2 separate regions of the Homo sapiens genome follow, and region 2 is linked to region 1. The links are contacts of gene promoters, found by promoter capture Hi-C in human tissues and cell types (Jung and others, 2019). All regions are on one chromosome and are shown on one strand. Each heading gives the region's core, a stretch centred on a gene start or on the middle of the fragment in contact. The rest is flanking DNA. Distances are from core to core; before and after follow the strand shown.

Region 1 (3,874 bases), core at 298-2,797:
CCCCCACGCGCGCTGCTCCCGGGTCGCCGACCCAGAGCGCTCCGACGCTTTGTCCTCGGAGCGTAGAAGGGTGTCGCCCTCAAAGGGAGCTCTCCCTTCACCTACCCCGGCCCCAGCCTCCTCGGGCATGAAGGAGCTTTAGGCTCTTGCTGGAGGGGAAAATCCTAGCCCCAGCTAGGGAGGGTGGAGAGCGGCGGAAAACCGGCCGGTGTCTCCATGGCGGGAGAGGCCGCCCTTCCCCAGCTCCCCGGCCCCGGGATCGTTCCCCGTGGCAGGCCCTCGCCCCGCGGGTGAACCCCCTCCTTCTCCCCGCCGTCCCCACACCCCCACGGCTTTGCTGAACGCCCCGGAAAGGCAGCGTCGCAGTACCTCTCCCACCGCGGGGACTCCACGCCGCACATGGCTCCATCCCGGGTGGGAGGCTGAGGGAGTAAGGGGGGAGAGCGCGGGTGAAAAAGACGCCGGGCTCCTCCCGGGAAGAGGGCGACAGCACCACGCCTTGCGCGTAGCCCGGCGATCGGGCCCCCTGCGTGGTGAGGGAGAACCCCAGAGCCGCTCGCACCTACCTCCCTCCGGTCGGCGGCTGCCCCCACCCGGGAGAACCGAAGCCTCTACCGTGGCGTCGCCAACCTAGCCTTCTCGATCGAGGAGGGCGGGAGGAGTGGGTGGGAAAAGCAACTCGCCCCCCGCAAAATTCCCAGCGCGCCCCCATCTCTCCATCCATTTATCTATCCACCCATCCACCCATCCATCCATCCATCCATCCATCCATCCATCCATCCATCACCAGGTCGTCCCCTCCTCCTCTTCCTCTCCCCTTCCTTCCTCGCTGCCTCGCCGCCTCCCCGCCGCCCTTACCTGTAGCCATCTGATTGTAATGGACTACCGAGTCGCTGCTGCCGGAGAAGAGGTTGAGCGCGCTGGGGATCTCCTCGGGGTACAGATTGTCAGGCAGTTGGTTTAGCAAACTGCTCATGGTCACCGGCAGCTTCTCGGCGAGTTTGCCGGTCATAGCACTCCCGAGCTGCCGCCGCCGCCGCCACCGCCGCCACCGCCGCCGCTCGCTCCTAACGCAGCTTCCAGGCAAGCGGCATCCGAGAGGCGATCCGTGGTGCAGGGGAAAAGCATGCGAGAGGGAAAGTTCGGGGGGAGGGGGGAGGGAAGAAGGGAAGGGATGGGCCAGGAGAGGGGATCTTCTCTTTTTTGGGGGGCGGGAGAGGGCCCCAGGGGGTAATCCTCTTGGGTGCCTCAGCTGGTGCGGTATGAGGCTGGGTCGTGGGGGGGGTGGGGCGTGTGCGGGGGGTGGGGTGGGGGCTGGGCTGGGGGGGGATCTCGGCTCAAGGGGGTCGGACGCGGCCTCAGTATTGATCTCACAAACAGACACGCGCCCGCCGCCCCCCCGCCCCCCGATCTGCCACCGCCACCGCCACCGCCACCGCCGCCGCCGCCGCCGCCGCCGCCGCCGCCTCTGCCGCCGCTGCCGCCGCTGCTACCACCACCACCAGCCCCGCCGCTTCCTAGCAAGCTCACTGCTGCCCAAAAGCTCCCAGCCAGGGAACTCCACCAGCCTATTTATCTGAGCCCCGGGAAAGCTCCGTGACGTAGCTGCCCATATATGGACAGACAAAGCCCAGCCGAAGGGGCGCGACGTCACAATGGAAGCTCCTCACAATGGAACATTAGAAAGCAGGAAGCGGGCCGCAGCCAACGTGCGGCGCCCGCACCGCTCGCGGCTCTTGAAAAAAAGAGAAGGGGAGAAGAAACAAGAAGAATGCGAGAAGAGAGAGGAAAGAAGGATACAGCTGCATGCAAAGCGCAAAGCGCGTAGCGTGGAGTCGAAACACCAGTAACTCATTGTGTGTGTTTATTTGAGGTTTGCGTTAGGAGAGCGCATTGGGGAGAGGTGGGCGGTGGGGTGGGGTTGTTTGCAAGTGGTCTCCAACACCCCAGCAGTTAGAAAGAGAGTTGAAAACATCTGGCGAAATCCCTTTGCAGCCCGGGAACTGCTGGGGAACCCGGAAGGCGTGCGTTGCGCCCCTGCTACCTCAGCGGCTCCAGCGTTCGGGATCCTATCCGAGATTAAGAGAAAGGGAGTGCTTCCCTTTGTGGGGGGAAGGAGGGGTGCGCGCAGGGTTGGGGGGGTGTTTCAACTTGTCAGAATTCCTTGGTCCAATATCCCAAGAACTTTTGTGCCAACTTCACTCTGATTCGCCGCCCCTGCCCCTCCCTGGGCCCCTGACCCGGCGCTGACTCTAGGCTGAGCGCAGTGGCGAGGAGATTCGGAGCACCCCAGCAGTTGCGCCAAAGACAAGAGCCCCATCCATATGGGGTCGAGGATGTGCGGTTTTCGTGGTGAAGAGGAAAGAATGAAGTTGAAGGGATAGATAAACACGTGCACTGAATCCCCAGTAAATTCCCTAACGGTTCCAAGCAGCCTCTGTGGCCACAGGATGGCAGGAGGGCCCAGCAGGCCCGGGCGCAGTCGCTGTCTACTGCTGCCTGCGAAGGGCCCGCCAGAGTTCCAGAAGGAGGACGCCGAACCCACAGTCTCTGAGCCACTGGGGGCCTCCCCTAGTCTCTGCCCTCCCCCTCGCCTTCCACAGGGCTGTCCCCATTGCTGCCTGCCGGCGCTCCGCAGTCAAGGGCGGCCTGTGTGCCGACCCGGAGCGCTTTCACCTCCCGGAGCGGCAGCAGATCCCGGGGGCGGCTGCTGTGCTCCCTGGGGCCTGCTCCCGAGGCGCGCGCAGCCGGCCCGCGGGCGAGGGGGAGGAGAGGGCGGGAGCATGGGGGTGCGACCCCAAATCACATCGGCTTGGCGGGGGAGGATTCCCTCCTCGGTGGCCGCGTGGGCGCGGTGAATCCCTCGTCCCCTCCTGGGGAGTCGGGGTTGGGGGAACGTGCATTTCTCGGGGGGAGTGGGAGTGTTGACAAGGAAGAAGAGAGGATCCCCGGGCCTCACGCCGTGGGAGGGCCACGCGGGCCGGGGACGTGTGGGAGGAACTCCCGAGCTGCACGTTGTGGTGGAGGTGGATGACAACCTCGCTCCCCTCCCCTCCCCTCCACTCAGTGGAGGGCTGGGGACCGGAGGGCCCGGCCTCCCCCCATCTTCTCCAGTTCTTAGGAAAGGAGGGATTCCCGCCTCCCGCGAGCCCCCTCTCTCCACCCCCGCCGCCTCTCCCGCCAGGCTCCCCACTCCTATACTAGGGAGCCACAGCGCCCCCCGGGCTGTCCTCCGCCAGCGCGGCTCAGGGAGGGAGAGCGCTGCAGCGGTCCCGCGCTCCGGTCAGAATCAGGGCAGGCTGCGCCTCCCGCCCCCGGCTCCCTCCCTTAGGGGGGGCGCGCGGCCGGTCGGGGGGCGTGGGCGGCGGTGTGAGCCGGGCTAGGTGCGGGAGGGGCCCGGGCGGCTGCGGGGAGGGTCGCAGGGCGGCGGGCCAAGCCGGGAAGAGCCATACAAGGAGCGGATCCGGTGACGCGCCGGCCGCGCCCCTTCTCCTTCTCGATTTGGCTGCAGATTCCGGTCCCAAGATTTGCATATTTTGGCATCCAGTGGAAAAGGAAAGAAGAACGGAACCCGCAGCCTTTAAAGGAACCGCACAGGCTGTAGCGTCACCCAGGGAGGCGGTGGGGGTGGGGGTGGGGGCCTGAAAAATTAGCCAGCGGCTCTGGCCTCTGGCCGTAGAGCCCGGCAGCAGGGAGGGCCAGGGAGGGGCGGCAACCAGCGAGCTTCGGGCGCGCCAGTCCCAGACCTGGCCCCTCCAGAGTGCTTCCTGCTGCGCGTGCACCCGGAGGCTGCGGAGGGTCTCCACGGGTTCCTGCCTGGGGCCGGGAGACGCTGTGGGGTCCGCGGTCCTGGGCGAGCTGCAGGCCCGAAGGC
Region 2 (3,874 bases), core at 528-3,027, 240 kb after region 1:
TCCTGGAAAGTCCCATTGCTAGATTTCTTGGTGCCCACCCTTGAAGTCCCCCTCTCTTCCTTCAGTTACCTGGGCTGGGACCACCTCCAGACACCACCATTCAAGCCAAACCTGTGGCTTCCTGAGACACATTGGTCCCTCCAGCTACTGGGATCTGTTGGACCACTGCTGCTGAAACTCTTCACTCCCTTCTTATCCCTCCAGGCCTCCTGTGCCTGACACCCTCCAATCACTGCCTAGGCCTCACTTCATTTCTCTACCCAGACACAGACTCTTGTTATTTCTCTCCCTCCTAAACCTTTCCACATAGGCCCTCTGGAATCTCTGAACTGTAGTGAACAAATTCCCCTGAATTCTTTTCATTGATTCCTAATTAAAAATTAATTGAGATATAATTCACACATAAAATTCACCCTTTTAATATATATAATCCAGTGAGTTTTCGTATGTTCACAAGCTTGTGCAACCATCACTACCAAAGTACAGAGCATTTTCATCAACCTAAAAGAAGTCCTGTACTTATTAGCAGTAACACCCCATTCCTCCCTACCCCCAGCCCCTGACAACCCTAATCTATTTTCCGTCTCTATGAATTTGCCTATTTTGGATGCCTCTACCAACATTTTCCCCTCCCTCTTTTCCAGCCTCCCTTCCCATGACCACTTTCTTGGACATTTTCATCACTACAAATTGCTCCATCCCTAAAATATTAAATTCAAGCAGTTTTTTTTGTTTGTTTTTGTTTTTGTTTTTAGGTGGAGTCTCGCTGTCACCGGGGCTGGAATGCAGTGGCATGATCTCAGCTCACTGCTGCCTCCGCCTCCTAGGTTCAAGTGATTCTCCTGCCTCAGCCTTCCAAGTAGCTGGGATTACAGGCACGCACCACTATGCCCAGCTAATTTCAAGCAGCTCTTCTGATCACCATCTCTTCTCCTTCCTCTACCCTCTTGTTACTTCTCTGCACTTAGTCTTTCATTTGATTCTAAACTCTGGTCCCTCGACCACTCTCCTTTTTCCTTACCTATTCTGACTACCTTCCCTCTGGTACCTGGGTCTTACAAACCTTTGTACTATTCACTTGCTAACATCTTCAATTTCTTCGCCCTTATCTTCGCATTGCAGCTGTTGGATGCAACTTCAAATTTGGAACAGTCCAGTAATCTGGCTACTCCGTCATGCAATCCTGCTCCCACTCTACTCTCAGTATCCTGTGCCTTCTACAGAGCCCAGGGTGGGGCCCAGGAGCCATGGGGGAAAACACTGTGCTAAGTGAAAGCAGCCAGTCGCAAAAGAGGACATATTGTATGATTCCATTTATATGAAATGTCCAGAATAGGCAAATACACAGGGACAGAAAGTAGACTAGTGGTTGCTAAGGCTGGAGGTGGAGGTGGGATAAGACGTGAATGAGAGGTATGGGGATGATAGCTAAAGGGTATGAGGTTTCTTTTAAAGGTGATGAAAATGTTCTGAAATTGCCTATGTGATGGTTGCACATATCTATACATATACTAAAAACCACTGAATTATACACTTCAAAATTTATGAATTGTGAGATAAGTGGAGCATATAGCAATAAAGCTGTTTAAAAAAAGTCATCCTGGGGATGTCAGCAAAATGGATGATTAGGAAGCTCCAAGCTCTTGTTCCCTCATGGAAAGCTAAACACACATATACACACACACACACACCCCCAGAGAGACAGAGAATTGGATGAACTAACTTTATAGAAGCTCTGGAAAACAGCCAAAGGTTAGAGCAGCCAAGTAAATGCCTAATCAAGGAAAGCCTCCTTAACTGCACCCTGGGTGAGAGAAGGAGACCCTGTCTCAAAAAATTTTTAAAAGCCTCCTTCAAAATAATAGGAATTTTTCCAGACACGGTGGCTCATGCCTGTAATCCCAGTACTTTGGGAAGCTGAGATGGGCAGATCATCTGAGGTCAGGAGTTCAAGACCAGCCTGTCCAACATGGTGAAACCCCATCTCTACTAAAAATACAAAAATTAGCCAGGCATGGTGACAGGCACCTGTAATCCCAGCTATTTGGGAGGCTAAGGCAGAAGAATCACTTGAACCCAGGAGGCGGAGATTGCAGTGAGCCAAGATCGTACTACTGCACTCTAGCCTGGGCAACAGAGCAAGACTCCGTCTCCAAAAAAAAAAAAAAAGGTTGGAAATTTCATTTTCTTTCTACCTTGTTCCACCTCCACTGCCAGCAGTATTGGTCTGGAGGAGATAGTAGCTCAAGCCCCAGCTCTTCCTTAAACTCAAAGAAGGAGAGCCAGACCCATCATGTGCAATGCTCTAATCTGTCTGGGGTCCACTTGCAGGAGTAGTCTCTGCTTTGCCTAAGGGAAAAGGGGAAGCATTGCTTATGAAACCAGCAGACCGACTACAGACCTTCAGACACTGAAGACAAAGATTACAGTTGAGACATACAACAGACCATCTAAAGCCCCAAGAAGCTCAAGGAATTTCAAGTAAAATAAACTCAAAGAGACCTACGCTGAGACATATTAGAATCAAACTGTTGGAAGCCAAAGACAAAGAGAGAATTTTGAAAGCAATAAGAGAGAAGACTCATCATGTATAGGGATCCTCAATAAAATTATCAGCCAATTTATCAGCAGAAACTTTGAAGCCCAGGGGGCATTGGGATGATATAAAGTACTGAAAGAAGAAAAGTTGTCAATTAAGAATTCTATGTCCAGCAAAAGTATCTTCCAAAATATTAGTAAGAGAGAAATTAAGAAAGTCCCAGATAAACAAAAGCTTAGGGAGTTGATTACCACCAGCACTGCCCTGCAAGAAATGCTGAAAGTAGATCTTCAGGTTGAAATGAAAAGATGACAGTAAGCTGAAACTAGGTGAAGAAATATATCAAGATCTTTGTTTGAGGTAAACACACAGCAAATTAAAAAGCCAGTATTGTTGGAATTTTGGTTTGTAATTCCACTTTTAAATACAGGATGTCTTAGTCCATTTAGTGCTGTTATAAATGAATACCTGAGGCTGGATAATTGATAAAGAGGTTTATTTGGCTCACAATTCTGCTGGCCGGAAGACTGGGCATCTGGTAAAAGCCTCAGCCTTTTCCCACTCATTTTAGAAGGGAAAGGGAAGCTGGAGTGTGCAGAAATCACACAGTGAAATAGAAAGCAGGAATGAGAAATGGGAGGTGCCAGGCTCTTTTTAACAACCAGTTCTCATGGAACTAATAAAGTGAGAATGCACTCCCCTGGAACTGCATTCTATTCATGAAAGGTCTGCCCCCAAGATGCAAACACCACCCATTGGGCCCCACCTCCAATATTGGGGATCAAATTTCAACATGAGTTTTGCGGGGCACAAATATCTAAATTATAGCACAGGATTTAAAGACAATGAATAAAATAATTATAAATCTTTGTTAGTGGGTATATAATAATGTAAACTCTAACATCGGTAACACAAAATGGGGGGCACGGAGCTGTATAAGTAAAATGTTTGTATGCAATTGAAGTTAAGTTAGTATCAATTCAAATTAGATCATTATAACTTTAGGATGTTATATGTAATTCCCATGGTAACCACAAAATGTATTTATAGAATATACACAAAAGGAAATGAGAAGTGAATAAAACATGTCACTACAAAAAAAATCAACTAAATGTAAAGAAAGGTAGAAATGGAGGAAATGAGGAACACAAAAAGCTGAAAAGCAGCCAGATGCAGTGGCACATGCCTGTAGTTCCAGCTGCTTGGGAGGCTGAGGTGAGAGGATCACTTGAGCCTAGGAGTTTGAGGCCAGCCTGGGCCACATAGTGAGACCCCATCTCTTAAGAATGCAAGCAAGCAAGCAAGCAAGAAGAGCTAAAACATACAGAAAACAAA

Evidence for each region. Contacts are between HindIII fragments. The study calls those that stand out against the background at their distance.
Region 2: a contact is called between a fragment that was not itself captured here and the fragment with the promoter of EGR3 in region 1, in 2 of the 25 tissues and cell types used here (heart left ventricle and liver).

What each region holds. Positions count from the first base shown.
Region 1 is chr8:22,691,933-22,695,806 of GRCh38, forward strand. It overlaps EGR3 (early growth response 3), which reads right to left and starts at 1,548. Exons shown (of 2, transcript NM_004430.3): 1 at 859-1,548. The coding sequence starts at 1,012. It overlaps LOC105379321 (a long non-coding RNA gene), which reads left to right and starts at 2,925. Exons shown (of 3, transcript XR_001745832.2): 1 at 2,925-3,282; 2 at 3,512-3,600. RefSeq lists silencers at 1-167, 578-647, 1,510-1,629, 1,574-1,737, 2,620-2,839 and 2 more and enhancers at 1,782-2,427, 2,260-2,369, 2,410-2,509. The HindIII fragment of the contact is 10,174 bases long and covers 1-3,874 here.
Region 2 is chr8:22,930,852-22,934,725 of GRCh38, forward strand. It overlaps a transcript of PEBP4 not described here. Among named protein-coding and RNA genes, the nearest start is that of PEBP4, 4.9 kb to the left of the region's middle. The HindIII fragment of the contact is 4,297 bases long and covers 1-3,874 here.